Linked DNA regions of Homo sapiens: region 1 is linked to region 2. Evidence: promoter capture Hi-C in human tissues and cell types (Jung and others, 2019). All regions are on one chromosome and are shown on one strand. Each heading gives the region's core, a stretch centred on a gene start or on the middle of the fragment in contact. The rest is flanking DNA. Distances are from core to core; before and after follow the strand shown. Region 1 overlaps CDH12 (cadherin 12). Region 2 holds the start of CDH12 (cadherin 12).

The links. The method cuts DNA at HindIII sites, captures the fragments that hold promoters and counts their contacts. A contact is called where the count stands out against the background at its distance.
Region 1: a contact is called between a fragment that was not itself captured here and the fragment with the promoter of CDH12 in region 2, in 2 of the 25 tissues and cell types used here (dorsolateral prefrontal cortex and heart left ventricle).

What each region holds. Positions count from the first base shown.
Region 1 is chr5:22,648,787-22,653,116 of GRCh38, forward strand. The region is part of intron 1 of CDH12 (cadherin 12); the gene reads right to left. Among named protein-coding and RNA genes, the nearest start is that of CDH12, 200 kb to the right of the region's middle. The HindIII fragment of the contact is 3,566 bases long and covers 1-3,269 here.
Region 2 is chr5:22,850,644-22,854,931 of GRCh38, forward strand. CDH12 (cadherin 12) reads right to left here and starts at 2,701. Exons shown (of 15, transcript NM_004061.5): 1 at 2,415-2,701. The HindIII fragment of the contact is 14,494 bases long and covers 1-3,446 here.

The DNA of each region.
Region 1 (4,330 bases), core at 237-2,736, 200 kb before region 2:
CAACTTTTTTTCACCACTTTCTCAAAGTGACATAAATGACAACATATTCATGATATTTTTTCTCAGTTTAAGCAGAGAATTATTTTTCTTGCCAATTACTTTAAGCTTAACAAAATATCTACTGTGAACAGGATAAGATGGACAAATGTGATAATATTGGAATTTAGTCTGCAAAACTGTAGTTCAAAGAAATGCTAATTATGAATATATGACATTTTAAAATATCCAAAGTGAAAAATGTACTGAATTACAAAGTATGTGTAGAGGGATAAAATCAAGCTGGTTAATGAAAACAGATGTAGAGAAATGATACTGTCAAAAAAGGTAGGAGGGTGAAATGAGGACTAAGGTCTTGGATGTGAAGTCTCTGTAATAAAAATATTATCTGCCTTTTATTAACTGCCTGAAATGTACCAGGCACTCTGCCAGGCTTGTGAATACAATATTTCCATTGTTTGCAACAGCGATTATTATGAATAGGCTTTGTTATTTACCCTTACTTTTCCTTTTGTGAACTGTGTGAGCTAATGAAAACTTAGGTGACTTGCCCAAGGCTAGGCAGAACTCTGACTCAGATGAATGCTTTCCTTTCCAAGGCCATATTTCTTTCTATGCATTGTGGTACCACACACAGGAGAGTGGGAGAGCAAGAGACTCATATTTTTCACATACTAATGCAAGGGGAACACTAGGCAAGAAGAGAAGAGGACAGCAGAAAGAACAGAGTTGAGTTTTATTTAAGTGACTGTCAATTTAGCATTTGGAAAACATAGGATTTCAAAGATAAGAAATGCTATACCGCATTAGGTAATTTGACATTTGGTGGCATAATGTGATACGAGCTTTCTTAAACAAACAAAAATGCCTATCCTTATTTGAAAATGAGATGGCAATGCCAAGGTATAAAGACTGGCATACACTTTGCATTGCTAATAGTATGAGTTTTCTATAATCGCTTCAGAAAAGCTTTTTTGCATGAGCTAGTAAATCTAAAGGGGAATCATATGATAAAATCCAGATATCCATTATTAGAGAACCTCAATTCTATACAAAAAACATGCACAACATTCACAACACCATCTATGGCAGCACTGCTTGATGTGTAAAGTTACATATATATATAAAATTATAGAGATTAACAAATACAAATTATATGCTTACACATTCATTTATTTTACCGAATAGTTATATGTATATTTTTGTGCACATGTGCATGGGTGTCTATATAACATAAATGTCTAAATTAAATGGGTGCAAAATTAAATCATAAAATAATACACTTAGTCTGGCTGTAATTATGTAAAGGCTAAAACCAGAAAAAGGAAACAAATTATTGCTTGAGGATACATATGCCTATATAACAAAATTGTAAATAAGTGCTAGAAAATGATTAGTAAAACATTCATGATTAGTGGCTATCATAGAGAGTGGACAGAGAGGCAAAATCTTTGGGAAGATGCACACAGGAAACTTCAGAGGGAGGGTTTGTTTCATTTCCTAAGCTTGGTGATAGATATAGGCTTGCTCTTCTTAGTTTTATTTTTTGTTTAGTTATGGAAACCATATCTAGTCTTTGACCACTTAGTTAGTGATTGCATTGTATAAACAAACAATAAAGCAGTACTTGGAAATATTAGAGATTTAAACTGTGTCCTTAGAGAGTAACCACAGTTCCCTTTGTAAGGGCAAGTGTCTATTAATTCTTTACTCCCTTAGCAATGTTCTTTCAACACAAAATCATATGTACACACTTGCAAGAGAATAATTAGAAAGAGAACATAATTGCTGTAGGCATTTAGAAGTTAGAAGGAAAAGAATTCTCTGCTCATTATGCACTGCACTGTGTCTACCACGGTGGTTTGAGCCTGTTAACCCCTTTCATCTTGTGCACTTCATCCATGAGAAAGAGATAACAAGTGCAAAATGATATTGGGTAATGAAGCATCACTCTCTGCATGCTACCCATCACAGGGACACGTGTACAACATCAATATCAGAAACTACTAAGAAGGGAAATGGCAGGCTCTTATCTGCCACTGCAAGTGGGTTTACAAGCAGAACTAGCATTTTGACATTAGCCTATTTGATGGGGAATCTTTACACTGTGTGGTGGGAGTCTTTCTTGGAAACAAACGAGAGGCGATAACTGTTAATATCCATGTTGTAGGTTTTTATTGTTACTATTCCTATTAATATTAGTAGTTAGTGTATTTCCATGTTTAATATCAGAAAAGTCTTTCTTGAGCAGAGATTTCCAATTATAAGATAACTTACTCAAAGTATAGGTAGAGGGAATTAGTCCATTTATATCATCAAGAGGCCCCATATCCAAAATATATTTTAAAGTCACAGCCAGCTTGCCTGTTTGACCTTAACTTAAATGTTACCTTCTCAGACTTCTCTAGCTACTTTATAAATGCAAACTACCTCTTCCCTCCCCAAACCCACACTTCTATATCCATTCTCTGCTCTATTTTTCTTCTATTTAAAATATCAGATGGCTGATATATTAGTCCATTTTCACACTGCTCTAAAGAACTCCCCAAGATTGGGCAATTTAAAAAGGAAGGGGGAGGCTTAATAGACTCACAGTTCAGCATGGCTGGGGAGGCCTCAGGAAACTTACAGTGATGTCAGAAGGTGAAGCAGAAGTAAGGAAACTTCTTCACAAGGTGATAGAAAGGATAATGAATGCAGGAGAACTACCAAACACCTATAAAACCATCAGATGTCATGAGAATTTACTCACTATCATGAGACCAGCATGGGGGAAACCACTTCCATGATCAAATTACCACCACCTGGTCTCTCTCCCTTGACACATGGGGATTATGAGGATTACAATTCAAGATAAGATTTGGGTGGAGACACAAAGCCTAACCATATCAGCTAAGGAGTAGTTGATAGGATGGTGGTTTTTTTTTTTTCAGAGTAATAAAATGTTCTAAAATTGATTGTCATGATGGATGCACAAAGATGCCCAAATCTGAATAAAAAGCCAATGAATTGTACGCTTTTCAATGGTTGAATTTTATGGTCTGTGAATTATATCTTAATATATCTGTTTTTTAAAAAAAGATTATAAAGGAGCAAATCTTTTCAAGTTCTAAGTTCCAAGTTCTAGGGAATCACAGGAAAACCCCCCTCGGACACTGAAGCATTAGAATTGTAAAAATAAATACCAAGTAGACCTACAACAGTGGAAGTGAGATACAGTCCAAATGTGATAGATGGTTAAAACGTAGGTTCAGAATAATTACTGAATACTTCTAGGATAGAATTCATACATATAGTAACCATGAAATGGAAAAAGATTAAAATGTGAAGTATGGTCAAGATTATGAAGACAGGCTATAACAGACATTTTGGGTCAAGAGGGTAACAGTGTAACAGTGTAGTGAGGACTTAGGGGGAACAGATTAATTAATTCATTATGTAAATGATCTCCTGCACAGCACTTAAGAGACAATACTAACATATGACCACAGAGCACAATGGTAATCAACACTAGGGGTTTCCAGAGTTAAAATTACATGTGATATATTTAAAAAGGAGCCTTGTTCTTGACATTCTGTAGCCCTCTGTTATCAAGGACTTAGCATGTCACCAGAAGCATCAATCAAAATTGATTACATACTCTAGAACCAGGTCTTGAATGACAGGGTACTGTTTTCAGTAGCTTCATTTCAGATCGATTCCATTTGAACAACTTCAAACAATTACATTAAATGTCCTTTAGTTATTTCCTTGTTTACTATTTTCCATAATTTCATTTTGGCCTTAACCCCTAAATGCATTGAAGAATGCAGTTACAATTAAATTTTATCAGATTTAATTTTTAGACTTTATATGTCAATTGCAGAGCAGATATCAAATATAGACTTTTACAAGTACAAATTAGAAAAAATCATTTAATTAGTCAAAATATTTGAAATGTACAAGAAATTCTCACAAGTGTATGTGTTTGCAAGAAATAATTAGATAAACTTCTTCAGAGGGGAAAAAGGATTTCAAGGGAGTTAGATAGTAAAAGATGATCATCTGCAAAGAAACAGTAAGAAATTTGAATCTCCATAGAAGCCTCTCTATGTGAAAGCATTGAGACTGGTTATTTCATGGTAGAAGAGATAACATTGATTGGCTAAATAACTGTATGCCCAAATAAACAAAAGAGTGGAATCACATATTAAATATTTTATGGGGGAACACTAAACACTTGTAATATACTCACTTTCTGTAAGCCCATAAACATCCACCAAATGGGACTTAATCAAAGATACCAGAAAGAGTGATATGTCTTAGTCATATAGCCCATTTATTAATATATCCT
Region 2 (4,288 bases), core at 1,451-3,950:
ACTTTTAAAACAGCAATAATTTGCTAGAAGATGAACAGGATAATATCTTACTTTAAATGAGACATCTGTAATCACTCTTTCCCTTTGGAAGTAGGAAGAAATTTACAACAGAGTCTGCTAGTAGGTCATTTTATTACCCAAGCCCTTAGATTTTATATTTTTACATGAAAACATGGCTCACTTTTAAAGACAGCCATCACTCTATGAATCCTCCTATCATGGCAAGACTGATTTGATGTTCATCACAATGCATTTTAAGAGGCAAGAGTGACATATATCCTTATTAATCTCATAATGATAAAGGATTGATTTCAACCTATATCCCAGACTGTTACATGAAATAGGCTCTGCCAAAATATCAGGTTCAAAAGATGCTCAATTTAAGGAGATCAGTTTTATGCTCCATCCTCAAAGGACAGAGTTATATGAGGTGTAAGTACGTCACATGAGGCATTAAGAGAAATTTTCTTCCCCATAAACTAAACACTGTTTGTACTGTAGTAAGAACTTAATACATATCATTCCGTGTGTGGAAGAAATGACTCACACTCCCTCCCCCTCCCCCCAACAATAATGCAGCTTTCTCTTTTTTGTAGGAATTATCTAAAATGATCACATCACTAAGCAGATCAGTGAGAGGAGTGAGTTTGAGTAGAAAATAAAAAAGCATTCGTGGCTTAAAAACTTCCCCCTACTGCTTGGAAATGGCACACCACAGTAGAAGTTAAGAACACAGCAAGCAGAGATTAACTGAACAACACAGAAAATCAAAAACATTTTTTTAATGGGGAAGGGGATTAACAATGCCAGGGCTAATCTTGGAAACTGGTCTCTGAAGTAAGAGTTATTAAGAGAAAAATATGTTATGTTCTAGAATTCGATTTTCAACTTAATTGAAAACCTCTTTTTACTTCAGTAGTTTTCATAGAAGGTGGAGAGACAGTTTCTAAATATTGTTGCTGAATAACTCGATGTATCAGTTAAATTAGTTAAAGGGAAGCCCCTGTTTTGCATGTGGCTATCCACTCAACCACTCCAAAACAATTCGTCAATCACCTGTTCATGGTTTGGGCAAAGTAACCATCTGCCTTTCAATTCTGAAGAGACATTCTGCTAGAATCATGGAATTATTTATAATAAAAACTTACTCGGTTGAATTCTCCTGTTGACATAATAATAAAAATATATAAGATGATATTTTAAATTGTCTAGGATAATTTAATGATGAGGCGCTGCCACTGAATGATGAGGTTCAGTATTTCTTGACAGCTGTGTGTCTGGATATTATTTTATAACCTTACAACTGCTCAGGTATACAGTGAAGATCAAGCAAACTAATACCTGCTTGGCATGGTTGCATTTTTCCTGTTTTGGTCATGTATAGTGTAATTTAAAACTGTAAACACATTTTCAGAATCTACTCTATTTGAATTTTTCCCCCTCAGTATGTAAGGTAATTTTCTAGCTGAGCAGTTTGTGAATGAGCTTCAAAATACTCGATGAGAAATTGAGAATCATGAAATGGTCGCAGAATCAGCCAGAAGTATGTCAGTTCCCTCTCCAGAGAGTACAGAGAAATGTGTATAAGAGATATCAGGTACTCTGAAGTACAGAGGTTCTAAATACACTGTGGTCCCGATGTAGCAAAAAACAAATAATGATGTTAAAAACATAAGAAAATACTTATAAAATGCTGAAGGTCTTTTTTGAAAAATGATTTGCCATTATGTCCTATATCACACATATTTCCTCCTTGTTAAATGTATCACCAAATGATCAATAACCTTAAAATAATTTGGAAATGCATATTATATAACCCACAGCAGATCTGGTAATCTATCTCTTTCATTTGTCCCAGATTAGTTTTGTGGTAGGAAACTCAAATGGCTGTACCATGAGAGGCAGGCCATTAAAACATTTAAATGGTTTTACAGTGGTATTTTTCAAATGAAGAATGAAGTTCATAAATTTCAGCGTCAGTGGAGAAATGAGTGAGGGGGGTCGGCATCTCTGGAAGCTCTTTGAAAATAAAGCATTCATTATTTTGTTGTAAAAATCAGATATCTATAAAGCCATTTATAAAATAACTAGTTGGACATCTAGCACACCTACTTATTTTCATTTGAAAATTTAGCCATGCTAAGATGCATTTGAGGTTAAAACATTTCTTTCCTTCCTCTTTTCACGTAACCTCTCACGGTCTGAGGACCAGAGACTTGTTTAGAACTTACCGAAGTTTCCCAAAGCAAAACCACGCACAAGCTCCTAATTCAGCTGCCAGATCTGTGTGCAGCTTCGTTCAGCTTCTCACTACGCTAGGCATCACTTTATTAATCATGTATGAATTTCTGTGCATGCACCCTGAAGCGATCACACACACGCGGTGCAATCCCAATCAAAAACGGAAGCCTTACCTGATGGCAGAAAAGGCAGCTGCAGGAGCAGCAGCACCGACGGCCGCAGCAGGGTGCCAACAGCTCAGCCTTGCGCGGAAGGTGAGACCCTTCTCTTCTGTTTCCCCTTTCCAAATCACTGTGCCAACACACTGCTTTGCATTTTGTCCGTTTTCATTCAAAGAAGGTTCTCCAGGCCGGGCAGCCAGTAGACACCACTTTCTTCCTGGAAGAGGCTGCCTCTCTTCTCAGAAAAGCCTGGACCCCTCTCTGTGGCTCCCTCCACATTTACCCTTCAGATCAATAATGCTCTCGGAGCGGCTGGAGCTCAACTGCAGCGGCGAGCGGCGAGCCAATGGGGGCCCAGGATTCCCTCCTGTCATCTCCCCGCCCTCAAAACAAAACACAGCGTGCCTTTGACACATCATTGAGTAGTGAAAAGTAATTGAATCCTATATTTGAAATGTATTTTGTTTGTTCTTTTTCCCCCCTAGCGTTCATTGTAGAATGCTTTGAATGAATCCGAGGACTCCTTAGCTCTCAGAAGACTCATTAAACGAGCCTAGCAGCGGGTGAAGATTAGGCGCTGAGAAAGTGATAGCACCTGGGTTAGCACCCGAAGCTTTGCTTTTTAAATGCTTGAGATCTATTGCATATCAGAGAACTGTCACCTGGGAGGAAAAAATCTTGGGTTCTATTAGTCTTTCCTCCACTAAGTCGCTTGAGTCTTTTTTGTGAATCAAGACAATTAATTACGTTTACCTGGAAGCTGTCTCAATGTTTAATTGTCTAAACGAGAATCAGATGCTTATTGGTGACAATAACCATGCTCAAGCAATTTCTCCTAATTCACTTACTTGTTTCTAGGCTGATTTAACTTGGTTCAGAGTCTATGAAGAACTCAAGATTGCTAAGACTATATACATTAGTCTGGTCTGTTTTAATTTTGTCATGTTTAAATATTGTAAGATTTTAAAAATTAATGTTAATTTCTCTTTATATGAGAGAATTTATTAATAATTACCTAAAACTTTATAGAATATTATAATGGCAATAAAATATTACAATGAAAAGTGTTATTGTTGAAAACCTATTCCTCCAAAAGCCACAAAACAACTTTGCATTCTTTAACCATGATTATCTTTCTTTGTGTTTCACTATTAAAGTGCTAACTATTGAATAAACATTTGCTTAAATATATTCACCAAGAATCGTGTATTTTCTAAGACTCTAAGTCATTTTATTATTCAGACATCAAGAATGCCACAATATTTCAGATAATCATTTAATTTTGTTCTATAAAAAATCTCAAGAGTACAGAGTCTCAATACAGTTTTAAAAATATGTCTCCCTACAGGAGGACTGTACACAAATAACAATGTCTTTTCAATGCTAGTGTTGAAAAAGAATAAAATTATTGGGACTGTCTGAAATCTTTTTGTTTCACTGAATACAAATGTGTTGATGTAGGTGGTGTAGCCAAGCTTTGTGTATCGTGACAAATTGAAATGGCTTGGGGAGACTTTACAAACAAAACAATTTCGTGACCTGTCTATCACGTGAAGGGAGGCACGGAAAAATGTAATATTTACACACTGTATGCTGTGTCACTATAACAAGGTGAATGCTAACTTTATTGTAACTCATTTATGTAGCCAATAAATATTTCATTCAGGGCAGTCTCTGGCTAAGTTTGGTCACTTGGATTTTGTGAAGAAAAGAATATGCTGATGAAAAAATGAATCATAAACATTGCTTTTCCCTCAATTGTATAGTATATTTTTCATTTATTTAAATTCCTTTTTTGATCACAAATAATAGGTCATTGACTACAGAACATTGTCTTTGTACTACAGGTCGAGAGTTCTCAATGTGTGGTCCCCAGACCAATAGCA